Regions from separate parts of the Homo sapiens genome. Here all the other regions are linked to region 3. Evidence: promoter capture Hi-C in 16 types of primary human blood cells and fetal thymus (Javierre and others, 2016). All regions are on one chromosome and are shown on one strand. The core of a region is centred on a gene start or on the middle of the fragment in contact, and the rest is flanking DNA. Distances in the headings are between cores, read along the strand shown.

Region 1 (4,740 bases), core at 1,691-4,190, 2.0 Mb before region 3:
CATGAGTCCTTATCAGTGCTTTTTAATGCATCAAAGGCTCAAACTTAGTCCATAAAACAAGCCCAATTCATTAAAAATCTTAGTGGAAAGCTGTAACACTGCAATAAAGTTGGCTAAACCTAACATATTAAGTAAACCTATTTATAGTTACTTCTCATGATACCTAGGACCGTGTGTGAGTCTTAGGTTGGACAATAACACTTAATAGTTTTTAAAAAACATGAAAGTGAAAAAACTAATGATTAAATACTGGTACAGGTATTAAACTTTTTTTTATGAATACTCAGCTAAAGCACATCACAAAATTTGACATGCTTAGACAAATGCTTGTCTACCCAATTCTCCACTGTGAACAAAGAGCCACTAGGTCCTAGAGAATAGAAGAGTGGTTTTTTGAAACGGAGTCTTGCTCTGTCACCCAGGCTAGAGTGCAGTGGCACGCTCACTGCAACCTCCACCTCCCAGGTTCAATCAATTCTCCTGCCTCAGCCTCCTGAGTAGCTGGGATGACAGGTGCCCACCACCACTCCCAGCTAATTTTTGTATTTTTAGTAGAGACAGGGTTTCGCCATCTTGCCCAGGCTGGTCTTGAACTCCTGACCTAGTGACTCACCTGCCTTGGCCTCCCAAAATGCTGGGATTATAGGCGTGAGCCACCGCACCCGGCACCTGGTGGCCTATTGAGTTTTATGGCGTTATTTAAATGACAAAAGTTATCTAACCCAGCCATAGAAGAGTGGTTCTTAATCAGGCTTACATCACAGTCACCTAGGGAAGCTTCAGCCCCACCTCTGACAAGACAAACAAGAGTCTCAGGGTGAGGGGCCCAAATACATGTTTTTAAACCACCCACATGATTCTAATGATCATTATAAATCATGAGTGTTAAGATTAACTAAACATGTCAGGAAAAGTAGACCCAACAAAAAATTAAGTTTGGGAATTACAAGAAACAATCAATTCTCATCTCCTGATCTTTCCTGAATTGCAATATATAGTTGATGACTAGCACCAAGTAATGGTAACAATTTGTCCATAATTTTGGCTTGATTGAGGTCCACTTAACCCAAATACAGACAAGTGCTTGAAGGCTGGCATGAAGGACCATCATAATGTAATTATAAATTGCAGTATTTCTTGTGGTACTTAGCATAATGCAAAGCATTTTGAATGTGATTAAAAAAATCTGCAGGTGAAAGCTGATGATCGGCTACTTGTTAAAACGAAAAACTGTCAAACAAAACATTAATAAAGAAAAAATTCATTTTAAGAACTTTTTAAAAATACCATTTTGAAATTAAAAATTAAAACCCGCCTTAATTTTCTTCCCTTAGTTTCTTTCATTTCTACATACTTACATTTAAGTCTTTTATTTCAAAACACAACAAAAATGAAAATAGCTTAGGCATTCTTTCCATAAAATAATATTTTTCTTACCAATGCCATTTCTCCTGTATTTGGAATCCACGGCTAACATGGCTATATAACCTCTGCGGAACATCTTTTTGTGCATATCCAACTTGCAAACGATGGCACCTACACACTCCTCCCCTACCATGGCCTTAAAAATAAACAAACAGTTATGAAGAATACATTGCCATCAGGTACTGCACAATTATCCAGAGAAAACAACAACCAACCATTGGTAAGCATTTTCGACGGGGGAAGATAATGGGAACTCTTGCAAGACAGCAGTCACAGAAGTTTCAGAAATCTAAATCCCCTAACTCCTTTAAATGTTCCAGTGTTAAAATTTCTCAATATTCTTTAGAACATGAATTTTTTATGCTTACTATTAAAGCCTAGGGAAAAAAGACAAGATTCCACAAGGTAAACATTCAAGTACTTTATAAGATTACATATGAGGTGCTTAAAATCACAATTATTTGCAACAAAGACCTAAGGTTCTGGAAGGGGAAATATGCAAAAAAAAAATGATTATAAAGAAAAAGTCTATTCATTAGGACATAAAATATTGTAAAACTTGCCCATCAGCAGAATGTAAATTTAAATATATTCAGTTAAATTTAGTAATAATGGCCAGGTGCTGTGGCTCATGCCTGTAAACCCAGCACTTTGGGAGGCAGGCGCAGGCAGATTGCTTGAGCTCAGGGGTTTGAGATCAGCGTGGGCAACATGGCAAAACCCTGTCTCCACCAAAATTACTTAAATTAGCCAGGTGTGGTGGCATGCACCTGTAGTTCCAGCTACTTGGAAAGCTGAGATAGGAGAATGGCTTGAGCCAGGAAGGGAGAGGCTACAGTGAGCTGAGATCGTGCCACTGCACTCCAGCCTAGGTGACAGAGTGAGACCCCATCTCAATAAAAGAAAAAAATGAAAATAAATTTAATAATAAAGTTTTAGTGAAAGCCAGATATAATACATATTTACACCTGAATGGTAGATTTCGATCAGGAAAAAAAAATTAAAAATTTTCAGAAAAAGCACAGTTTATAAGGTATTGCTTAGACCATACCCAAGAGGTTTTTGTTAATATATGTAAGTGTAGCATAGTCTCATTTTTAGGATACTCCTGATAGTGTGGATAACTGTCATAAAGCTCTCAGAATATTTATAGTTCAAAATCAAAGCTTTATGTTAAAAGCTTTAATTTTACAGAAATTTCTATTTTAATAAAAACGTACAGCTTTCCAGAGTATTAAAAGCTACATGTTAAATTCTAATCATCCCCCATTTTCATTAAGATTTCTAGTGTTACCATTGAAAATGTTTTTCAAAAATTCCAATGCTGATAAAAAGTTCTAGTAACACAGTATTTCTGGTAAATATAAATAGGGCAGTATCTCCAACTGTTTAAATAATGTGTCAGTAAGAAGTCTGTTTTCCATAAATTAACTTTCCAGAAGAAACTATTTCAACAAAAGCAGAAATGAGTCAAAAAACTAATAAGTAATGTCCAATTTATAATTAATACATATTTTAAATTTGTGACTTTTTTAGTCTGTCATTCTGTAAATTGATTAAAAGGCCTTTTTTTAACTGTGGAGAAATCTTTTCAGCAAGATAATTCTAATCCATTTCATGCAAACCTAAACTAGGTCGGAAAAATCCTTTTGAAGGAATATGAAATTCAACAACCCACGCTAATTCATTTCTGGTTTATCACACATTCCAAAACTATTTTGGGTCAATAAACCTCTGAAATTGTTATTTCTAATTTTTTCCCTCACAATACATCAATCTTTTAAAAAAATTTTTTAAACAAAGACCTGAAGTATGCACAAAAATCGCCTCGACCAACTCTGAAAGCTTTTTCTGATTTGAAACTCACTTCAAATATATGTGCGTATATACAGACACGTATAAATACATACACATACATAAAATTATCACAGACCAAATGGTATATTTAAAAGGGCCAGAAAAAATTTTGGCCTGACCTCATAAGCCAGGCTCAGGTGAAATGAAAACCTGTATTAGATTGATGATACAAACCTCAGAATAGCTACACCTTATATAAAACTATCCAAAAATGAGGAAAAATTAAAACCATTAAACACAATACAACTGGACAGTACTTTCAATCTGAACAGGAATTTCAAACAAATCTTTGTCCTTTGAGCATGGAATAAGCAAACAAAATATTAAATTAGTTCATTCTTAAGACCTGATTTCTTCCTAATTTAGAATCTATAGGAGCAAAAATCAAGCTGTATACATCATCTAAAAAGCCCAATATATCATACACCATTACGATGACATTAGTAGTGAAGACCAATGCTGCATTTTTTTTTCCTGATAAACTACTCATGAATATGTGGTACATTTACAGGAATCACTAAATTGCTTGTCAATTTTTCCAAATAAAAGCTCTGCATATACATTTGGAATTCACGCTATTAAATGTATTTTTTCAAGGATGGGAACTGAAAAATCCCCGGCAAGATTAAGACTTAACACTACAAGGCCAAAGGGTTGTCAGTCTATAAAACTATGAAAAAAATAAAGTGAGAGATTCCCAAATTCTAGAACACTACAAATAGAAAACTGGAGGAAGCCAAAAAGTTAAATTTAGAACAAATAAATGGAAGTACTATGTTACATTTGCTGAGAGTAAGTTTAAGAACTTCAAAAAGATACCAACAACTGAAAATGTTACTATGAAAACAGGTAAAGATAAAATGGTTAAGTACAGAGTAACTGAAAGTGTCTCACATTTGTCCTTTTTTTTTTTTTTTTTTACATCTTTTACAATTAGGAAGAATCATAATAAGCTATCATTTTTATTAATCAAGTATTGGCAATTTTGTAAGGTTCAACCCCATATACTCCATTGACCCATTACAGGTTATCCACGGAAAACGGAACATTTTGGAGGTTTTTAATCTCTTGAGATTGATGTAAGGGCAACTGTCCCTTGGTGAAGATAACTTGGTGACACAATAATCTTCACTGAATGGATCAAGGGTATGTCATTTTTCAGGTTCTTGTTTGTTACCATAATGAGAGGCCAGGAGAACTGGGTTCTAGCTTTACCCTTCCGACGGTAAATATCTGGAGATTGAAACATTTTAAGTCACTTTGGTTCTTAACTTCTTTTCAATCAAAAAACAAAACAAAACCTACCCCTCTGTCAGTAAATATCTGGAGATTGAAACATTTTAAGTCACTTTGGTTCTTAACTTTTTTTCAATCAAAAAACAAAACAGAACAAAACCTAAGTTGGGCTAGATTATCTCTAGGATGGCTTTCAGTTCTAAAAGGATATGATTTAAAATA
Region 2 (4,659 bases), core at 1,894-4,393, 1.2 Mb before region 3:
ACTACTTACCCCCACTCTCAATCATATTTCCCTCCTACTGTCTCCATAACTTATCACCAGTGAATATGCTGTTTATTCATTAACTTGTGTATTGTCTAACCGCACTGGAACACTAGCAATTATCTGTTCGCCACTACTGTTCTTTTGTTTGAAACATAATAAGGACACCGTGAATAATATCTGTGGACTAAAAAAGACTGAAAGTAAATACTCAGGACCAGGATAAAAGATCTGGGGAAGTGGAGAGGTCGATAAGCCCCACCAGGCGAAACCAACAATACGCCCCATCTCGAAAACCTGAGAACTAAAGAAACCACAACGACAGGAATGGAAACAGAAGTGGGCTCTGGAACACACAATAGTGCGCTGTGCACAGGGGGGTGGATGGAGGCCCAGAGCTGACCAGACCGAATGCCAAGAGCAGGGGCCAGACGCAGACCCTGCCCGTTCTGGGACCAGGGGAGAGGGACAGAAGGGGCAACCCTGCGAGTACTTTACCGGAGTCTCCCCCCGGTACCGAAGGGGGCAGGGTGAAGGTGAACACTGCGGCCACGGCGGCGAACACCGCCACGCCGCCGCGGATGCCCCCGGAGCGCCGCAGCCCCACTCGGACTGCCCGCCCCTGGGCCTGGCCCCTGCCGTCGCCATGGGGACTCATGGGCCAGTGGCGACCGAGGGAGAAGGACACGGCCAGCCCAAGAACCCGGTGCGACACGGAGCTCCCCAGCCGAGAGACGAGCGCAGCTTGTGCGGCGGCCACGGCGGCTTCCGGGTCGAGCCTCCGCGGGTTGGACCGCACCTTTCTCCGCCTGAGCGCGGGGAGGAGAAAATGCCAGGCCTCCCTTGAGCCAGGCCCTGCGAGTTTTCCCGCAGTGCACCACGCATTGGCGTTCACCTACTTATAATGTGATTTAAGGTTCCTAATCACCAGGAGAGCATTCCCTTTAAAAAGCAAGCCCGGCCACAGGCCTACCTTCTCCATGGCTATTCCCCCCTTTTATACTGACTTGGTTGGGTCTGACAGAGACCAAAGCAGCGTCGAAAACCGCGAGCGAGGAAGGGCTGCTCCTGCCCCCTACGGTGCGGGGTGGAACTGCACAAAAGGGCCACGATCAGCCAGGAGCCCCTACCTGTGCTAAAAAAAAAAAAAGGGTGGTGTATTTACCGTATGTGCAAAGTAAGCCAATAAATACATTAATCACAATTATGTATTTATTACGATTTACTACGTTACTATGACTAATTACAATAAGTCTGTGTGCTACTTATTAAATCACTGAGTAATTTTTAGAGAGATTAGAATATGCTAGTGCGTCTTTTTTTTTTTTTTTCATTCCATAGCATAATGAAAACTCTGTAGATGAGTCGGGAAATTTGAGTTCCTGTATTCATGCAGATAACTCAAACCATGATAAAGGTGTCTCCTAGTTTAATGAAGAGGAGTGTTTTGCTGGAGCTTTCAACACAGCAAAGTGGAAAATGAAATTGAATCACCATATTTTACAATGAGCTGTAACGCAAAAAAAAAGAATCGGAGCCGTTAATAAGGACAACTACATAACAGCGCAGTTAAGCTTTTTAAGCTTATGTTTTATTATTAAAGCAATTATCCTGGAGTGGGCGGGGAGGAGAGCAACCCGCATAAAATGTATCTCAAAGACACACTGAAAACCAGTGACAATCTCAAACGTGTTACGCGCAATTTGATAGAGACACAGTGACTAAACTATAGAGTAACATATACCTACCTTGACGGTCATGGGGCCAGCACACCTTAGTCTTTTCCAGGTACTTATACAATTTCCAGCCTTTTCCAGGTAATTTCTCAGCTGTACTGTGAGTTCCTGGAGGAGAGGGGCTGTGTGGTAGAGTGCTTCTAAAATGGATTCCCAGATAACCCTGCCTCCTCACTCACTTCCTGTATAAGCTGCTCGCCTTATGTGTGAGCTTAACCTAAGGATTGGCTTCTATCAATACAATAAGGCAAAAGTGATGGATGTCACTTTCAAGATTAGGTTATGAAAGACTAACTTTCATCTTGCTGGCACTCCCTCTTGTCCTCTCACTTGTTCTCTCTGATGAAGCCACCTACCATGGTGTAGGCTGCCCTGTGGAAAGGTCCACATGGGAAGAAACTGAGAGCCGCCTCTAGCCAACAGCTGGCAAGAAACTGAGACCTTCAGTCCAACAACCTTAGAGGAACTGAATCTAGGCAACACCATGTGAGGGAGCTAGGAAGTGGATCCTTCCCCCACATAAGCCTTGAGATAACTATAACTCCTGTCAAGACTTGGATTGCAGCCTGTGGATGACCCTGAAGCAGAGGACCTAACTAAGCCTCATCCAGACTGCTGTCCTATAGAAACCGCGAGATAATAAATGTTGTTTTAAGTTGATAAATGCAGGCTAATTTGTTAGTTATCAGCAATAGATAGTTAAGATAGGCTGTCTTCTATTTCTTTGCTGAAAGAACATGCCAATGAGTAACCTTGACTGGGTCAAGCATATACTTCTTTCCCTTTTTATGCATTTCACTTTTGCTCATGAGTTTTATTTAAAATTTTTTTATTTTGGAGGGGAATAATTCTTTGTCCATGTTTGGGAGGTAGAGATCAGTGCTGGAAGTACAAATTTAGGAGTTGCTCGTGTAAGGATGATATAAATGACTAACTTGATAAGGGGATAGTGTAGAGAGAACAAGGTTGAGGTCTAATGTCAGCCCATATTCTCATTTAGGGAATGGCTGGAGAAGGGGAGAGAACAGTGTAAGAGAATGAGGCATCACCAGAAGCTAAAGAAGAAAAGTCGATGAAGTACATGTGGTCAGGATGTTACAGAGAGGTAAAGGACAATGAAGAGAGGCACGTCTAGATTTTGTGAAGCTCAAGTGTATAAAACTTGGAGAATTATATGTAAGTAAACTGATATAAAACTGCAGATACAGAATTAGGCACAAGATATTGGAAGACACCTGGGCTAGAGAGGAACTGTGAGGCCTAAGCTTCATTAGCTTCATGGTTGTTTTCCTTTGAAGATTAAGAACTTCCAGTTCTCTGTTTATGTCTGACTCTACCTCTCAGTAAGCATCTGACTATTCCTTCCTCCCCGGAAGTATTTTCTTTTCTGGCCTTCATTGATAGCACACTCTTTGGTTTTCCTTTTATCAATGGCCTCCCTGCCCTGGCTCTGCTTCTGTCGGTCCCCCAAATGCTGAAGTATTCCTGGGCTGTTCTAGACTTTTCTCTCTTTCTGTCTTCTTTCCCGAGATGATCATATTGAAGCTTTAAAGGGCAACTATGGGGCAATATTTCTCAAAATTAGACCTCCTCTGCTTCTCTTTTTTAGCGACCGATTATTTTAAAAAACCCAACTGCCCCCGACCTCTCCATTTCTATGTCTAAATAGCCTGTCAAACCTGATGGACTTTGTCTAATTTCCACCATATTTAAAATGATGCCTGGCACAAAATTGGTGCTAAACAAATATTTATGTAATAAATGAATACATGAACAATCAGAGATCACTGGCATATCCGTTAGGGATTGCATTTAGCTACTAGTGACAGATCCTGCTACAGTGTCTTAAACATTAAAACAATCATTCTCTTATATAAAAGAAGTCAGAAGTCTATAGGAAGTCAGTCTACCACTGGCTTGGCAACTCCCTGATTCCACTAGGGACACAGCTGAAGTCCTCATATCTTTCTGCACCATCCCACTCAGCTCACATTCTCAAGGTCATCTACTGATCCAAGGTGGCTGCTAATGCTCCAGACATTACATCTGTTCTTGAGGAAGAAAAAGAAAGGATGGGAAGAGAAAGGCCTGCTCCAGCTTTTTTAAAAAAGCACTATTTTTTTAAATGCTATTCCACAATTTTGCTATATCTAATTGGCCAAAATTGAATAACAGGTCACTCCTAGGGGCAAAGGATGCTGCGAAATAGACTTTTCAGCTGGACAGTTTGCCTAGAATTCTATTACAAAGGAAGAAGGGGAGAATGGATACTGAGGGGCAACTAGCAGGCTCTGCATGGTTGGATTTGGTGACCTGGAGGTATTTGAACCTTGAAAGTTCAAGAGGTCAGCTTCAGTAGAGTAGTATCTACAGAAACAAGGTACTAGTGGGCTAAGAAGTGAGCAAATGGAAGACATGAAAATAAAATACATTTGCAAAAAGTTTGGCAGTGAAGGGAAAGAGAGAAATAGCATGAAAATTCACAGGGATCGAAGTGTCAAATGAAGATTTTTGAATGTCTTGTTTTGTTTGTAACTCAAGGGAGTATTTGGAGAGACATAGTGATGAAGTAAAGATGTACAGGTTATTGGAGAGGATGGGACTGAGGAGGACAGAAGAGAAGGGTTGAAGATAGAAAATGTTAGAGATAAAGAGAGAGACCTCATGATGTCTCTCTTTACACATGATGTGTAAACATGTGATCGTTGGACTTGATCCTGAGACAGACCAATAAGACATATAACGAGTATTGATTTATTGTTTGTGCTCTACATCATTCTATGATGGCTTAGAGTTAGCCACTATAATACAAACCATAAAGCAGAAAAATATGTAAATAATTTGGGATTCATCCAGAGAAACAGAACTAGTAGGAGATATGTATGATACAATTTATTGCAAGGAATTGTATAATGTAATTTTG
Region 3 (4,354 bases), core at 1,374-3,873:
CCAAAGAACGTTCTGAGATCTATGAAGCATTTGAAAACATCTATCCTATTCTAAAAGGTTTTAAAAAAGCCTGAGCATATCATTCAGCATCTCACATTATTCTGGTTTGAATATGTCCATAAGCCCAGCACAGAAACAGCTGGATTCTTCTACGTTTAATTGTAGATGTTACAAGTACGTTACTTATTAAAGGGCGACTCTGTGTAAGTAACCTAAGAAACGAAGAAAAATTCTTATTCAAAATGACTCCTTTTGTGTTATTTTAAAAACTGAACAAGTAAACATTTCAAAATTTGAGAGATTTAGGGTCTCACTAGAATGATATTGTAGCATCATGAAGACTCAATGCGTTTCCTTTTAGCCGGAAGGGCCATCTTCCAGTAATTTGCCAAAATGACGAACACAAAGGGAAAGAGGTGAGGCACCTGATACATGTTCTCTAGGCCTTTTAGAAAAGATGGAGTTGTTCCTTTGGCCACATACATGCGAATCTACGAAAAAGGTGATATTGTAGACATCAAGGGAATGGCTGCTTTTCAAAAAGGAGTGCTCCGCAAATGTTACCACAGCAAAGCTGGAAGAGTCTACAGTGTTACCCAGCATGCTGTTGGCATTGTAAACAAGGGCAAGATTTTTGCCAAGAGAATGAATGTGCTTACTGAGCCAGGCTGGTCTTGAACTCCTGACCTCAGTTGATCCATCTGCCTGGGCCTTGGCACTCTAAGAGCCAAGTAAGTTTCCTGAAACGCGTGAAGGTAAATAATCAGAAAAAGACGTCAAAGGGAGAGGTGTCTGAGTTCAACTGAAGCGCCAGCCTGCTCCACCCAGACAAGCACTTAGAACCAATGGAGGGAGCCTGGGCTGCTGGAACCTATTCCCTATGAGTTCATGGCATAATAGGTGTCAAAAAAAATTCTGAACTGTACAAATGTTTCTCTTCATTGAGAAGTGTGGCGCCGCCCCCTCCCCTTAAAGAAATATTTAAACTACATTTTGTATCCAAAAACCTCAGTGCTCTGCTGTTAAGTAATACATTAATATGCGTTCTCTGAAAATATATAGCAACATATAGGAGTTTCAAATAACTGCATAAGCTAGATACTATCTGTGATATCATCTAGCACGATAGGAATTAATGTGTATTTTTTGCCTTTTAAAATATTGAACAGTTGATCCTGATCATTAGGTATTAAGCACTGTGAAGGATCCTGTCTGAATACAAATGAAACATAAGCCCGAGACCTTAAAAAATAATCCTTTTGTTTGAAATGATCAGAGAGAAAGACTTCTCACTTAAAAATAAATCTTAAACTTTCAGGAACCATTCAAGTTTAGTGTAAACTGTATTCTGAATATAGAGAATTTTTGCTTTTGCTTGTTTTTGTAATCCTACGTGATTTGTATTTAAAAAGACTGGGTAAGATTAAGAAGACGGAGGAGCAAAGGGCTCAGATTCAAGACCTAATTAGCTTGTAGAATCACCAGTTTTCGATGGTGATGTGGAGATTAACAGGGAGGGACGGGCTAATATGAATCATGGCTCTTGGCTGTAAATCATCAGTGATTACGTCCTTTACCAAAGTAAGAAAACAGGTTTGTAGGGAGGCAGAAGTCAGTTTCCAACACTTTGAGTTTGTGGTGTCCTGGAATGTCACCTGATACCTAGTAAGTAGTTCTGGATCTTTGGGTATGGAACTTGAGAAAGGAATCCTGGCTAGAGAGAGAATTCAGGGCAGTTTATCAGTAGATAGCCTAGTAAAATCATCCTTGAGAATCACTGGTCTATTTAATCTCACCTATAAACTCACTTTTCTCTGTAGTTTAGAGGCATATTCAAACACTAATTACTCTGATATGATCCTCCCAACACATCACCTTATATATCCCCTATCCACCAAAAGAAACTTGAAGGGAAGTCCTAACCATCTACCTAGTTCAAATTCTCTTAGAGCATGGCCCAGGGTAGGGAAGGTACGTTAGCCACGTGATTAACTTTTCAGAAGGATACAATTCTGATTTTGCACGTTCACTTTGGTTGTTTTCACTATTGGTAAAGTATAATACTATTAACCATATTAATCCTCACGGCATTAGATGGGTACTATAATTCTATCCATTTAACACGAGAGAACAGGCGCAGAGAGATTAAGGAACTTGCCCCAAGTCACACAGCTATTAAGCAGGTGAGTGAGCCAAAATTCAACCTAGTTCCAAGACCCAGCCCCTTCACCCTACTTTGTTTGCTGTAGTTTAGCCAGATTTTAAAGCATCCACAGCAAGTTAAATTCCCTTATTCCGCTCCCATTCCGTTTTCCCAGAATCCTTAGGGTATGGTATTACAATTTTCTGCACAAGTTTGAGGCTTTAACTCGTAGTCTTGGCCTGAGCCAGCAGATGACATTTTGTTTGGCCGACTAGCCCCTCTAATATAACTCTCCCCCTGCTTCGGGACCTGTTGCCCCTCAGCAGACCGGAAAAACAACAGTGCCCGGGACAGGAACACGCGGCGGCGGAGGGGTCCGGGGGCTCGCCGGCATCCCAGCCCCCCTTCCCCAGGCCCCTCCTCCTGGCCCAGAATGCACCCGGTTGAAAACAAAATCCCACGTGACTGGCTCTCCTCTCAGGCCATCATGGCGTCTCCCAGTGGGAAGGGAGCCCGGGCGCTGGAGGCTCCTGGCTGCGGGCCCCGGCCGCTCGCCCGGGACCTGGTGGACTCCGTGGACGATGCGGAGGGGCTGTACGTGGCTGTGGAGCGCTGCCCGCTGTGCAACACTACCCGCCGGCGGCTGACCTGCGCCAAATGCGTTCAGAGCGGCGATTTCGTCTACTTCGACGGCCGCGACCGGGAGAGGTACGGCGGCCGCCACGGCCCTATTGTTTCTTCTGCTGTGTGTCCTCCAGCCAGGCAGCCGAAGGCTGGAACCTGGGGCTCCCCGTCCGGGCACCAGATACCAGCGAGAGGAGCGAGAGAGAGGGAGTGTAGCTAGCTGCTCTGCACCGGAGCTTTGCTACCAGAGGACAGCGTAGGGGCCAGATGAGGGAAGGTCGCCGTTTCCCCATCACCCACCCAAGAGGAGTTTGACCCCACGGTGCTCTTGGTCACTGGGGAAAAAAGGAATAAGTGGTGACTCTCTGGAGAAGTTTTCCCGTTGCTGCCATTAAGTTAGATTCCCAGCTCTTTGCTGTATGTACTCCCATTCAAAAGCTTGGCTTTCTATTTTCGAAAGCATATTTATACTCATTCTCTAGAGGAGAGAGTAGAAGAGAATCAAATAACTGCTTTAGAGGGATTTGGGCCTGGTAGTCTGTCACAGATGGACTTTGTTATCAGACATGCTTACTCTAATGTGTGAATTGAGGCTTGCTGTTAACGCCCCTTTCCCCTCCCTGCCTCTAAAGATTATTTTAGATTCTTAGGAATTTGGGAACGTGTTTTGGCCTTGTTTTAAAATTCAGATTGGGAGCTGCATGCTTTTAGTTAAGAGAATTGCCTTTAGGAAAATGTTTTGGTTTCATTTCGAAATCTAAACAGCTACAAGTTCTTGGTTAAGAAAATTGAAAAATTAGTGTGATTAGCTGCAGGATCTCCCACTCTCAACTTATGTTTCAACAATTTAGTGTCAATGATAGTCAATGATAGTAAGATAGCTAGCATTCTGAGCACAAAAATTCAGGTATTAATTCATTCGCAACAACCGAATGACTTATCCCCAACTTATTAGGAAGCTGCACAGTAAGTGCTTTGCCCCAGGTCACACAAATAGTTAAGTGTTGGTACAAGAATTAAAATTCAGACAGCTTGGACCTATGTACCCGCACTTAACCACTAGACTTTATATCCTCTATATTTGGGAATGTTTTGAGTTCTTAGTATTTCTGTGATCGTGGATGGAGTTCTTTCCTTTCTCTTTTGAGGAGGTTTGAATGACAAACTCTTTTTTAGTTTTGTTGCTGTGTCTTATTGGTGCTCTTGATGACTTTAGAAACTGCTTATGTAGTAAGTGATAGCTTTAAAAATTAAACCAGTTATAAGAATACGGGGTATGAGATGGAAATGTCTAACTGATGGAGTGAATCGAGGATTTGGTTCTGGACCTTCTTGTCTGTCTACACGTTTTACTATGTCTATTCACATAATTTAAATACCATCTATATGCTTAAGACTGCCAGACTTGTATCTCCAACCTAGTCTTCTCTAAAGTCCAGAAAACAGCTGCTTATTCAACATCAATATTTTTAGATTTGTAATAGATATCTTCATTTTAATATGGCAAACTGAACTCCTTGTTTTCCATCATAAATCTGTTTTCCCATGCTCATCCCAACCCAGTAAATGTCAATCTCATTGTTCCTT
Region 4 (4,356 bases), core at 1,592-4,091, 1.1 Mb before region 3:
ATGGAGAACCAAAATATAAAGATATGTATGTATGTGTGTATATGTGTGTGTATATATATATATACACACATATATGTATATATATACATATATATACATATATATGTATATATATACATATATACATATATATGTATATATATACACATATATGTGTATATATATACATATATATGTATGTGTATATATATACATATATATATATGTGTGTGTATATATATATATATATATATTTTTTTTTTTTTTTTTTTCTTTTTTGAGACAGAGTCTTACTTTGTTGCCCAGGCTGGAGTGCAGCAGTGTGATCTCGGCTCACTGCAACCTCCATCTCCACCTCCTGGGCTCAGGTAATCCTTCCACCTCATCCTCTCAAGTAGCTGGGATTACAGAGATGCGCCACCACGTCTGGCTAATTTTTGTATTTTTTTGTAGACAACTATTAGCGTGCTTTTGCCATGTTAGCCAAGCTGGTCCTGAACTCCTGGCCTCAAGTGATCTGCCCGCTTTGGCCTTCCAAAGTGCTGGGATTACAGGCATTAGCCACCATTCCCGGCCTGTATTTATATATTTTAAGGGATTAAGATAGCAATGAAAAGTAATTTTCATGGGCCTTCCAGGGAAGGGGAGGGTGAGAGGAAAGAAGAGAGGAGAGAGAGAGACAAAGTTTGGGGTAGGTGTCCACAAGCAAGTAGGAACTTAGAGTCTTCCTGAAGTCATCTACTTTGCAGGGGAAGGGTCTTAATAATGATAATGTTAATAATAATAACTAATGTCTATTTGGTGTCTGTACACTGCACGTCCTGATATTAAATTGTTGTTCACTTACTGTTCGCTTAGAATATTCACATAAAAAAATATTTATTAAGCTTTACCATGGTGCTGGGATACAGAAGAAAGAGTGGATAGAAGATAGCTATGCAAATAAAGAAAGAAACATATAATAGAAGTAGGCACCGAGTGTGGCCATGTATTTCCTCTTAAGTGGCAACACGTTCTTGCATTTTTACACAAAGCTAGAACTCATTGATACTCAGAGGCTGTAATGAGAATTTCTACGGAATGTAGCTTTTATCTCTGCAGTATTAACTTTGGTCAAAAGATGGCAGCAAAGTTCAGCTAGCTCTTCGGAAACCACTTCTCAAAAGTGAGGGGAGAAGGGAGTAACTATTCACATCTTTTACAGGTTAATGGGCAAGTTGGGGAAAGGTTGTCTTGCCGCCTACACATGAAATTGTTTTCGAATTGTATATCACAATATTTATTAAACATTAAAATATCACAAGTTCAATGTAAGCCAGGTTATAATATTCAAATTATATTTATTCATTCACTTGTTAATTTACAAATGTAAATATTCATTAATTTCCCAAATGTTTTAGTACCTGCTAGGCATTAGCACTACACTGAGAGCTGATGATACTTGTCGACCAGAATATACACAGTTCCAGCTCTCATTGAACATAGGGCCTAGAGTGGGAATGATATTAAAAAGATAAATAAAGAAATGAACTTGTAATTAATTATTCATAGAATGTAATTACCTGTGGTAATTATATTGTATTTTTTCAGTTTCCTAGTACTTGAGAGTAACAGAAAATACTCAAGCATTTATTTTTCAATTGCTTGACTAATTATTCAGTTGCCTAGGACAGTACCTGGCACAAAGTAGGTGCTTAGTAAAGAGCTGTTAAGTGAGTGAAGGAGTGTAATTACAAATCTGAGATACACATGTCCAGAACATGACTGGAGACAAGTTTCTAATGAAGGAACATGACCTGGGTCTGGGAAAGTGATGTAGGTCTGAAGGATGAGTAGGAGGTAACTAGATGGCTGTGTATGTGTGTGGATTGGAGGTGGGGAGTCTCTGGGCATACAGTAGACCATGAGTAAAGGCCCTGTGACGATGGTGGTTGTGGGGTAGGGAGGGGGTGGAGAGGAGGCATGGGAACATGTCTTGCTACAGGGAACTAAAAGACCAGTGCGGCCTCAGCACAGGGAGTCAGGGGGTTGAACAGTGATGCACAACATAGACTTTGGTGTAAAGAATGAGTAGGAGAGGGACGAGAGTGGATTTGGGTAGAACAGGTGGGAAGCTGTTGCAGTCCAGGTGAGAGATGGTGGTAGCTTAGACTAGGGGGTGGGCTAATGGAGTGGGAAGTTGTCAAAGTCACCCGATGGGAGCACATGATTATATACAGACTATAGAGTGTGAGGGAGAGAGGAGCTCCAAGGATTACTGACTTGTGCAATGGGGTGTGGTAGAAAGGAAATTCTGGAGGAAAACCAATTTGGGGGAGGAGGGAAGATCCTAAGTTCTATCTGAAACATTCTGAGAATTTGAGACATCCTAGTAGAAATATTAAGTCCATAATTACATTGAAGGGACAGAGCACAGAGAGGTCTGGAGTGGAAATTGATTTGGGAGCCATTGGCATGTAGATGACATTTGAAAAGAAAAGGCCTGGTTGAATCCACATATGAAGAGAGTATAGGGAAAGAAATGGGGACTAAGACTAGCCTTGGGGAACTCACACTAGGTGCCTGGTGGAGAAGGATGGCGGCAAACAAAACAGAAGTAGCCAGAGAAGAAAAGAGGAGAGCCAGGAAAGAGTGTGTGAGTGCAATGGACAGAACTCTGGACACAGGAAGACCTTTCTCATGTTCTGAGAAAGGTTGGCATCTCCATCCTCCACCACAGTCCTTCCATCCAGCCTGTTCATTCACCCATTTAACTGTGGCCCTTGCTAGCTCCAACACAAATGTCCTTGGCTCTTGGTAGAGCCAGTCCCAGGAAGATAATGTATTTTGAGCCACCAAAACTATAGATCATGGCAAATAGAGAGCAAAGAATAATGACATGGACATTGGTGGAAGAATTTATTTACAGTTCCAAAGAAAAAGACCACTGGACTAAGAGTTAGGAAGCCAGAGATCCAATCTGAGCTCCCCCACTGGCCTGCTGTGCCAGTTTAGGGATTTCTCTGGCTATGCTTTATTTCAGTGTTATCATCATTAAATTTCAGGGCAGGAGACTGTGGTGGGTGGGTGGGCAAAGAGAAGGAAGAAAGTAAGAGAAAATAATACACACTCTGCATAATAATAAGCTCCTTATAAAGATCTTATGAGATCAGGTGTCTAAAAGTGCCTTGGAAAACATATAACATCAAATACTTTCCTATATGATAAAAGAATTTTAAAAATACTCTCATAAAAATGGAACCATGCAATTGATAAATCTGGAGAGTTTCCAGGCATTTATTCCTAAAAAGCTGTGTGAATGCCTTTTATCTCTTTCTATCCTGCTGCTAGCACCATATCCTTTTCTAACTAAAAATGAAAAAAACGAAATAAAGAAAAAAACTTCTAAAATCTGTTATTGATGCAAGGAAAAGGATACATATAGATTTTTAACAATATAGATTCAGGACCACCCAAGCTAATGGATTCCAGGCCAGACAGCAAAAACAAAAGGATTACCACTAAACCCTCCAAACTGTTTTAAAAGCTGGGGAGGATAAGTGATGGGAACATGGCGGGCTAGAGGTACCAGGCACCAGACCCTCCACCAAGAAGGACCAAAACAGCAAGAAGATAACCATACCTCGAACAGAACTTCAAGAGAGAACCCCAGAATTGAGCAAGAGAGTGACAGAGCACTTCTGAGGCTTGTAAGGAGAGGGGAGCGAAGCATCCTGAAGCCAAGAGAAATTCCCAATGGCAGGCGAAAGATAAGTGAGAGATCCAAAGTGGTCCACATTCCCACAGTGAACTCTGCAATCCTGGCTATGGGAAAGCCCTTAGGCCCCTGTGGGCCCTGAGACTAGTATGGGAGCTGCTTGGAGGCCACATAACGGCATTGTTCTGCGGGGGGATTTTGTGCTGGGTCCCAATCCCCCTCCCCTACCCAAGCAGTTGCAGCACAATAATATTTTGAGAGCGCAGCCCTCACCAGACTCCATCCTGTCCTGGCTGCTCACAGCCCCTGCATCTCCATATTCCCAGCGCCACACTGGGATCTCTCATGTCCACCTGAGAGCTACAGTACTGCAACTGTGGTGAGTCCCAGTGGCACAGCTCTGTACCCAGCAGTCTGGTCAACACAGTGTCCTACCCCCCAGAGAACAGGTGCAGTGCACCACGGAGGCTGCCCCTGGGACCAAGGGAGCCAAAATGTGTGCCCCCCAGAGCCTGAGAGCCTCCTGCCCTAGGCTGCGGTACTGACACCAACCCTAGCCCCTCCAGGAGCAGAGCCACCACACTTCTGCACAAGCTGTCAGGATGCCTGGGGATTGGCCCGCCCCAGCTACTACCACCAGCTCCCATGCACATGCCATCTGGGGTCCTGGGGATAGGCTC
Region 5 (4,642 bases), core at 489-2,988, 1.1 Mb before region 3:
TGCAGATGCGGAACCGGCAAATGGAGAGATGACTGTATACTTTCCTCTGTGAATAATAGGGACTTACTTAATGTAAGATCATCATCTTTAGGAGATGGTGGGCTCAGTAAGGGCAGAAGCAAGGTTTTTTATTTTAGCATCTCCCCACAGGACCTAATTTGATGCTCCCTCTTTGTAACTGCATCTTGTGCTGTTTTCCTCACTCTCTCACTCATCTCTCTTGCCTCTCTCATCTCCACCTCTTGCATTTTTTCTTCTCTGGGAGGCTCCATGTCCTTTTACATGGAGATTAATTTAGTTTACCTGGGCTTCTGCAATTCTGCATCTCTACCTATTACCCTCTAAGCACAGCAAAGGCTGGCTAGCCAAGTAGTGCCAATAAGGTTTCTCCTTAGAAGATGAGGGAGGGAAAAGGTTATATTTGTACCTATATCCATATAATGCCCATAAATCATAATATCAACACATTCACTCTCCCACTTAAAAATCTTCTGTACTCTCTTTGCTTACCAAGTAAGCTCCCTTCCCTTCCCCTGATTTTCAAGGTCTTCTGTGACCAAGACCAATCTTCCCGAAAAAAGGGTTTCCCAATATTGGCACTATTGACATTTGGGGCTGGATAAGTTTTGTTGTGGCAAGCCATCCTGTGCATTGTAGGGTATTTAGCAGTATCCCTGGCTTCTACTCACCCGATGTCAATAACATACCCTCACCTAGTTATAACAACCAAAAATGTCTCCAGACATTGCCAAATGTCCCCTGGGTGGCAAAATCTCCCCTGATTGAGAACCACTGCTTTAAAGCCTTATCACCTGCTACTTCCCATACTAGGCCTGTACTCTATCTATATCGGACACACTCAGAGTGATCTTCCCTTCATACTTCTGCTTATTCTCTTTCTCTGGTTTGCGATGCCCTCCCTTTCACCACCCAACTCCATCCACCTAAAATCCTACTCAGTCTTTTATGGCCAGTCTTTACTCCATGAAATATTACCTAATTTCCTCTTAATCAAAGCTTTAGGCATTTGTCCTTTGAATTCTCAATAACGTTTTGTTGATACCTCTCATAACTTTAATTCTGCATCATTTCCATTTGACTCCATGAGTATAATAACTATTTTGTAGGTGTTCAACAAGTGAGTGTTTGCTAATGCACATACATATGTGTGTTTTTGTGGTTGAAAATTGGAACACGGGTGTAGGAGATAATGTTCTTTCACCTCCTTGAAGGAGGCCAGAGGGGGGTCATTCTCATGCCTTTTGCATCCTTCTTCCTGAGCTGCTGGTAATCTATTGTACTAGATGTGAGGATTCAATAGACCCTGCCGTACTCAACAAAATTTAAGGAAATAAGCAAAAGCTGATCTTATTTCCTTCTGTGATATGGTTTGGATTTGTATCCCCACCCAAATCTCATTTTGAATTGTAATCCCCAATGTTAGAAGAGAGGCAGGTGGGAGGTGGTTGAATCATGGGGGCGGATTTCCCCCTCGCTTTTCTTGTAATAGTGAGTGAATTCTCATGAGATCTGGTTGTTTTAAAGTGTGTAGCACCTCCCCCCAACATCTCCCTTCCTCCTGGCCACATAAGAAGAGCCTACTTCCCCTCCCCCTTCTGCCATGATTGTGAGTCTTCTGAGGCCTCCCTAGCCATGCTTCCTGTATAGCTTGTGGAACTATGAGCCAATTAAACTTATTTTCTTTATAAATTACCCAGTCTCAGGTATTTCTCCATAGCAGTGCAAGAACGGACTAATACATCCCCCAAAGCCCATGGTAGGTGCCCTAAACCATTCTCATTGTTCCTAAGTGCTGAGAAAAGTTGAGGCCACTCTCCTACTCCAGCAAAGCCCTGGAAATGCAAAGGTCCCAGCCTCATCTGACCAATCAAGATCCCATGGCCATAGGCACTCACACTGAGAAGCCTTTCTGCCACAGTAAGTCATGTCAGCAACATTAAAAACAAATTTAAGGTTTTTCTAGGGAGGCTCAAACTTTTCCTTTATAAGTCACTTGTCATCTCTGGCGACAGGACAGCTAGAAACTCATAGATTCCAGGAGAGCTTTCCAGCTGTCATGGTAACTGACCCGATGTGGCGCTGAAACTGTCCTCATAGCTAACCAACCATTACAGTGGTCCTTCGCTGGATCGGGGGGTGACCTCAGGAAATTCATTTGGAGTATTTCTCCACTGCCATCTTGAGGTCACTGGGAATAGTGCATCCTCCTTCCTTTTGTCATTGAACAGACATGGGCCTGAGGGATTTGCATGCTCTCTCTGCCTCCCATGACAGGTGCTGCAGCAGGCTCAAGAAACAGCATTGCCCTTATCACTGGAGCTTAGTCACTCTCGCTGTTCTTACCACGAGGCAGACCTGTCAGCAGGAACATGGATGTCTTAGCACTCAATGACATATCCTAGACACACCATGCTGCTTACTTTAAAAGAAAAGCTTAGGAAAGAAATGGAATTATAAAAATAAAAAAAAAGAAAATCTCTTTCAGAATCCCTACTCCCATGAGATGTCCAGGGTTCGAACTTTAAAAAGCAAAAATAAGAATAGTGGCCAAGAAATACATTTTTGTGTATGTGTGTAAAAGATGGATAAAATAAGGCATTGTTTAATTTCCTTCTGACTTCCCAAACAATTTCATATCATGGACATGAATGCTTTCTCATTTTATATGAGTTTTTTTTTAACCTGAATAATACAGAGTCTATTTAAAACTATTTTACCACTTATAACCCTGGAAAAAACTTCTTTCTCCTGGGCAGTGCCTGGTGGTTGGTTTGAAAAGCTAGTGGCTCCTTTTCAGAGTGTTTTTCTTAAATAAATGTCTGTCACATTAATGATTAAAATCAATTAAGCTCAATCATACACCTGAATCTAGCTAGAAGAGAATAATTCAAATGTTCCTAGCATAAAGAATAAATATTTAAAGTGATGGATATCCCAATTACCCTGATTTGATCTTTACACATTATAAGAATGTATCAAATTATCACATGTACCCTCGAAATATGTACACCTCATATATATAAATTTTAAAAATCAATTAAGTTCCTTTTGGAAGAAAGGGACACTGATTTCCTCATTCTAATTAGGTGATGTATTGCCCTCTAGCGGCATGATATGATAAATAGTGATATAAATCCAATGCAGGATGAATTTGCCTCCATTCATTCAGTGGGTTATTGAACAGCTACTCTGTGCCATGTACAGCTCTGGGCTCTGCCCGGGTACAGCAGCAAAGAAGATAAGCCAGTGTCTTCACTTCAAGGAGCATATATTCTAATGGGGGGATACAGAAAATTAAAACTTAAATAAGAAAAATCTTAGTGATATATGCCCTGGAGAGAATTAAAATAGAGTTATGTGGAAGACAGTGGTTGAGTAGATACTTTAGATTGAGCCATCTAGGATGTCCTCCCTATGAAGATGATATTTACCCTTAGATATGAATGCCAAGGTAGCTAGCCAAGACGAAGATCAGGAGTAGGAACATTTTAGGCAGAAGAAACAGCTAGAGCAAGAAGTTTAAGACAGAAATGAGAGGTGTTCAAGGAACAGAAAGATGGTCAGAGCTGCTGAAGCTTGGTAGATGGGAGAATGGCATAAGATGAGTTTGGAAAGGACAGATGATGGCCAGATCATACACGGCCTTGGAAAACCAAAGAGAATAATCTTTGAAGATATCAAGCAGGGGAATTACACTATTTGATTCACATTCTTTAAAAACTCTGGTTACTATGTGGAGAACAAATCCTTTGTGGAGAACAGAGGAGGCTGCTATAGTAATCCTCCAGGAGAAATGATGGCGGCTCGGCCCAGCATGACATTGATGGGAATGAAGATGGTTGACACATTTAGATATGTTTTAAAGGTAGTATCAGTGGGATTTGTTCATGGCTTGGTATAGGTAGTGAGGGAAAGAGAGGACTTGAGAATGACACCTTGATTTTTAATTGACTAACAGAATGGAAGAAAATGATATATACCAAGATGAGAAATATTGCTTGAGGGTTGTGTTTGGGAAGCAAATCAGGTCATGGCCTTCATAATTAGGATACAAAATACAGAACAACTTTTTTTTTTTTTTTTGAGATGGAGTCTCGCTCTGTCACCAGGCTGGAGAGCAGTGGCTCAATCTCAGCTCACTGCAACCTCCCCTCCCTAGCTGAAGTGATTCCCCTGCCTCAGCCTCTCGAGTAGCTGGGACTACAGGCGCCCACCACCACGCCCAGCTAATTTGTGTGTGTGTGTGTGTGTGTGTGTGTGTGTGTGTGTGTTTTAGTAGAGACGGGCTTTCACCATGTTGGCCAGGATGGTCTCAATCTCTTGACTCATGATCTGCCTGCCTCGGCCTCCCAAAGTGCTGGGATTACGGGCATGAGCCACCGAGCCCGGCCAGAACAACTTTTTAAAGAATGTGTTAAACAAAGATGATGAGCCAATAAATATAAATATTCACATTTCAAGGGGTCCAAGAGAGCTATAGAGTTTATCAAAGGAAATCAGGAAGAAGAGTTCTCAGATTGCAGTATAAGGCACCCTGAACAACCAGGAAAGAGAATTTAGCACTATGGAGATAAGAGCCAGTGGCTTTGAAACCTTCTAGAGCTGTTTATCTCCCAGTTTC
Region 6 (4,919 bases), core at 710-3,209, 1.9 Mb before region 3:
TAGTACTTAGATTTGGAAGAGAAAATAGTTTTTATCTTGCACATTATCTACAACCCACTGGGAGTGGCTGCCTGAATCTCTGAACTAAAAAGGAGCCTGACCCTTTATCCAAGGCTCAGTACAGAAAAGGGCTGTAATTGATTAGCAATGTCTGCCACAGAAACACTAGGAAACAAGTGTGGCAGGGTGACCCAGGACCAGTCTAAAATGAGCCCAAGTGAATCATTACTTTTCTATGTTCTGAATTATACTGGCATAAAATCGAAGGTTAACAAAATTGGAGACATTAGCTTTTAAAATGTCCTTTCAAGCTCTATCAGACTACAAACACCACATAAGACTACTTTTACAATTAAATCATTCAGTGATTTTTCACTCACAGGTTATATGCATCCACATTAAAAATATAAGATTATGATTTTCTTTAAACTGTTATCATTATATAATCCCATTTAAACATGAGACTATTACAATAATAATGATCCATATGTTACTGGAGCAGGGGCTTTAGAATTCCAGATGTAATAATCAGAAGAAATTAGTTTCCGGTCTAAAGAAAAGAAAAAGAAATTAATGATAAGACTATTTCAGCAAAAATTCAACGAGAGCAAAGTCATGATTTTTGAAATTGTGGAATGCAGTTATTTCAAGTCAATACTTTGAAATATTCATTTTAATTTCATATTATCAAGACTTTATTATAACTTTTACCATTTTACAAATATAGACTCATTAAATATTTGAAGAATCCATCTTTGACCTTATATGAAATATCTCTCATTTATGCCAAATCTGCCAATTTTATCTTCACATTTTCTCTAAAATCTTTTTCGTATGGACCATTACTCTGACTGCAAAAACATTAAAAATTTTTCATTGGTTTCTCTTCTATAACCTTATCACCATAGCCCTGATTCTGGGTCTTGCTATTCTTTACCCAAAGTGTCAGAGATATAAATTAACACCTAACTTCCTAGCAACATTCTAAATAGTTTGCTTCACTGGTTTCTTATTATAGTTCTGATCAATTTAAGCCTTTTTAAAAATAGCTTTGAAACTCTACAAAAATGGCAACCTATTTGAACTAAAGTTTTCTGATATGTAAAGTTGAGATAATAATGTTCATTTGGAGTTACACATGTAAATTCTTTATATATATATATAATTAAATATCCAATTAAATATAATTATCCAATTCAGCCTGTTCTACCTTTCTTCTTCATGCCCTTCTTCATAATGAAAAGAATATAGACTATATTGTCTTTTTTGTTCTCTTCAAAGTTTGAGAACGCAGTAACAATGAGAGGCAAGACAGCATACTGTTAAGTGGACAGATTCCAGAGCCAGAATGCTTGAGTATCTGACTCGCAGTTCTGCCATTTGCAAGCTATGGGACCCTAATCTCTCAGTTCCATCAGTGTCCTCATCTGTAAAATGGAGATAACAACACTTACATAGGGTGCTGTGAGGATTAATGAGACAATGCACATAAAACACTTAGAACTTTGCCTGGCATATAGTAAGCAATAAATATTAGCCATTATTATTTAAATTGGTATTATTATTACTAAACTATTTTTAAACTAAGTTGTATATTATGAAAATAGATTTTATTGTCAAGATGATGGCAAAATAAAGTTTTACATAATTGCACAAACTGGCAGTCACATTCTGAAACTAACAGAGGAAAGAAAAGATGGGTCATAATATTAATTTAAAATGAGTTCTTTCAACATATTTTGTATTAAGAAGCAGGTATGTTCCTATCTTGTATTATGTTCTCTGGAAATTACTGCAGTATGTTTAGTTAACATAAATAAATTATTTTCCCATAGACAATCTAAAATACTGGTCTGTTTGCTTTCAGTCTCTCATATATACAACAAAAAAATGATGTAAGAGAAAACACAGGGCAAGCCTAGGGAAGTAAAGAATACTGGTTTATTCTGGTTACATTACATAGTAGAAATTATATTGACAAGCACAAATAGTTGCTTAGAATTCTGTAGTTCTGAGTTCTCTAATTCTCTTGAAATGTACATGGAGAGTCCTTTCCTATTCTTTTTATTTTAGGAACCCTAATCCTTAGTTTAAGAAATATTTATCTAACTATAATAATAAAAATGTGTGTAAATTGGGATTATTCTTATCCACATATATAACAGCTTTATTCTCCTTAATGTATGAGGCAAAAAGGTTGTTTAAGTTTAGATAACTCTACCTCATTTTAGCTACTATTCGATGTTACATATTTCTATTTGATCTGAATTAAATACTTTTGATTCATTTATAAATTGTTTTTTGTCTCATATTTTCATATGTTTCGTGTGTGTGTGTGTGTGTGTGTGTGTGTGTATGTGTGTGTGTACACACATATAGATCTATACTTTACCAACCATTAAACATACTAAAATCAGGAAACGTCTTTTTTATTGTCTTCCTATTGATAGAATAGAGAAGGTGCTAAATAATGCTTATTGATTGCAACATTTGCTAAAGATATTTAAAAGTTTTAAATAAGAATCATCTCTAGTATCTACTAAATCTATACTATACACTAAGCATCATACTAAGTCAATATAATCTTATCTAAACCTCATAACAATCCTGAGGTAAATCGCACTATTATTTCCATTTTATACACAAGAAAATTAAAACTTCAAGAAGTTCGCTAACTTGCCCAAAGTTATACAGCTAATGAAATGGCTGAGCCAGGCTTAAGCCCTGTCTGTCCAACATCACAGTCTCTGTGAATCACATCTCTGAATAACCAGAGAAAAACAAATCCAATTTTACACTGAAGTTCCCCTCTATCCCAATCTTTGCTTATCCAGACCACTTTATAAACAAGAAGGCGGCAGAGGGCAGTGTAAAGTACACAAACTGTTATGTGGGGTAGAATCAGCCCAGAATTTTATAAATTGGGATTATTCTCTAATCTCTAAGTTCTGTTACATTCAAATTTTACCTTAGGTAATAACTGCAAACACCATTTTAATTCCCTTAAGTTAGTTTGAATCTGTGTAACTTACGTGCACTTATTTTTGGTTTTCCTGATGCAAAAACTTGAACTGAATGCTGATCTGCATAACATCCAGTAAGTGTGTAATCTAAGATCCTAAAATGAAGCTAGAAAGAAGAGAGAAATGTACCAAATTAAGGTGATTATTTGGTAAAAAGCATGGTTACATTTTTTCCCTTAACCCAGTCTTAGGGAATTTATTTTACACAGTTCACAAAATAAAAACCACAAGTACTAAACTTGAATTGTGTGTGTGCGCACACATATATATACAAAAACACACACAGTTTTTTTTTCCGTTTGCATTAGGGCCATTTTTTTGTAAGGCTGTCATTATGAAGTACTTAACACATAATACGCACTTCACTAACAGCTCTAATCCATACTGCAAGGTATGCTGAGTGAACTGACGTGCAAAGATGGAAGCAATTGGTATCCCAGCACGTAAGCAGCAGAGCTGGCATTTGAACTCAGACCTTACCGACTCCAAAAGCTGGTGCTGTCTCCCCCGTGCTACTGTCTTGCATGCCCTATATTCTCTTCTATCCCTAGGGCTATGTGGCTATGATATATTCTAGATCATAAGTCTTTTACAGGCAGGAAAGTATACACCTTCTAATAAAATATAATTTAATTATGAAAACAGAAACATCAGTTTATCTTGTGTTTAGAGGGAATGAGCTGCGCTAATTTTCCAGAAGGGTGAAATTTAACTTTTACAGAACTAATGCATAAGATGTGATTTAGAATGTAATGTAATTTTCAGATCTTCTCAGCAATTTTTTTTTTTCCTTTTGCAACCCAAATTATCTCTGATAATAAAAGGCTGTTGCGTGCTTTTTTGGTATAATTCTTAATGCTGGAAGTTATGACAAGACTGATTTCCATACAACTGAAATACTGTAAAACACACTTAGATCATTCAGTCAACAAAAATATGTGCTACATGCTTTCAATGTGAGTGTAACTGGTTGGTGATGGGAATGAATAGAAAAATCGTAATTCCTACTTTTGAAGGACATAGAATGTGTGGTAACATTCCACATTTTTTTCTGAAAGGTATCTGAAGTAGGAATTTTTATAATAATCCTTGAAACAAAGCTTCTGGACATAAGTGAAGCCAAGATAGAAGAAATGAATTATCATCAGTATACTTCTGACTTCACTACCACTTCCCCTAATTGTCTGTATTTCTCTTGATGTCTTTAATACATTTTTTATGTTTTCTTGCTACCTTTCTAATCACTCCTTCAATTCCCTCATTTGTTTTTTTTAATCTTCCTGTATTATTTTATCCTTTTCTGATCTTATTTATTTCCACTGCCTCAACTATTTGTTCTCTGTGGCTAATTCCTAAATCCTGTATACAGCTGAGCCTTCTCTTAAGAATCAAGCTTTAGATTTTTAGCTACCCACTGAACATTTACAATGGGCTATATTGCTATTGCCAGCAAAAAATATGATATGAAACCCATTTCTTCCCAATTTTCTCCATATCAATAATTTAGGTATATTCATCCATTCAGCAAATATTTATGTGTTAGGTCCTGGACTAGATATTTGGAATAAAACAATGAATGAATGAGATTCACGTCTCTACCCTCTTAAAAAGCGTCAAGTTTGGTTTAAGTTCCATTTTTTTTTAAACAATATCATCTTGGAACAACACCATTCCTTGTCTCTGTATTTAATTAGTGGTCAAGGCTTTATTTTATCACAGCTTTTACAGCAGTCCCTTCATTTTTCTCCCTTCTCCCTTCTTTTCTCTTTCTGTTGACACTACACTAACTCAGCATTATTAACTTATTACAATATTACCCTTTCATATGGAATATTAATATGTTACAGAATGGCTTGTCTCTAATTTTTTTACTCACCTTCCTTACATCCATTCCAG

The links. Contacts are between HindIII fragments. The CHiCAGO score rates a contact against its expected background, and 5 or more counts as called.
Region 1: a fragment that was not itself captured here is called in contact with the fragment with the promoter of ATG14 in region 3 in 1 of 17 cell types (total B cells); the score reaches 7.0 in total B cells.
Region 2: a fragment that was not itself captured here is called in contact with the fragment with the promoter of ATG14 in region 3 in 4 of 17 cell types (fetal thymus, naive CD8 T cells, monocytes and 1 more); the score reaches 7.8 in fetal thymus.
Region 4: a contact is called between a fragment that was not itself captured here and the fragment with the promoter of ATG14 in region 3, in 1 of 17 cell types (fetal thymus). The highest score is 10.7, in fetal thymus.
Region 5: a contact is called between a fragment that was not itself captured here and the fragment with the promoter of ATG14 in region 3, in 1 of 17 cell types (fetal thymus). The highest score is 7.4, in fetal thymus.
Region 6: a contact is called between a fragment that was not itself captured here and the fragment with the promoter of ATG14 in region 3, in 1 of 17 cell types (total B cells). The highest score is 5.6, in total B cells.

Annotation. Positions count from the first base shown.
Region 1 is chr14:57,393,573-57,398,312 of GRCh38, reverse strand. NAA30 (N-alpha-acetyltransferase 30, NatC catalytic subunit) reads right to left here. Exons shown (of 5, transcript NM_001011713.3): 3 at 1,438-1,561. Among named protein-coding and RNA genes, the nearest start is that of NAA30, 5.4 kb to the right of the region's middle. The HindIII fragment of the contact is 665 bases long and covers 2,608-3,272 here.
Region 2 is chr14:56,575,914-56,580,572 of GRCh38, reverse strand. TMEM260 (transmembrane protein 260) reads right to left here and starts at 775. Exons shown (of 16, transcript NM_017799.4): 1 at 499-775. The coding sequence starts at 658. RefSeq lists a silencer at 488-707. The HindIII fragment of the contact is 280 bases long and covers 3,004-3,283 here.
Region 3 is chr14:55,410,099-55,414,452 of GRCh38, reverse strand. It overlaps ATG14 (autophagy related 14), which reads left to right and starts at 2,623. Exons shown (of 10, transcript NM_014924.5): 1 at 2,623-2,851. The coding sequence starts at 2,631. It overlaps TBPL2 (TATA-box binding protein like 2), which reads left to right. Exons shown (of 7, transcript NM_199047.3): 7 at 1-243. The coding sequence ends at 74. It also overlaps a transcript of FBXO34 not described here and the pseudogene RPL21P6. RefSeq lists a silencer at 2,334-2,633. The HindIII fragment of the contact is 5,042 bases long and covers 1-3,207 here.
Region 4 is chr14:56,471,363-56,475,718 of GRCh38, reverse strand. No RefSeq gene overlaps it. Among named protein-coding and RNA genes, the nearest start is that of TMEM260, 110 kb to the left of the region's middle. The HindIII fragment of the contact is 3,945 bases long and covers 869-4,356 here.
Region 5 is chr14:56,489,067-56,493,708 of GRCh38, reverse strand. No RefSeq gene overlaps it. Among named protein-coding and RNA genes, the nearest start is that of TMEM260, 88 kb to the left of the region's middle. The HindIII fragment of the contact is 1,437 bases long and covers 1,020-2,456 here.
Region 6 is chr14:57,284,433-57,289,351 of GRCh38, reverse strand. AP5M1 (adaptor related protein complex 5 subunit mu 1) reads right to left here. Exons shown (of 8, transcript NM_018229.4): 7 at 3,033-3,129; 8 at 1-550. The coding sequence ends at 468. Among named protein-coding and RNA genes, the nearest start is that of AP5M1, 18 kb to the right of the region's middle. The HindIII fragment of the contact is 4,333 bases long and covers 1-4,125 here.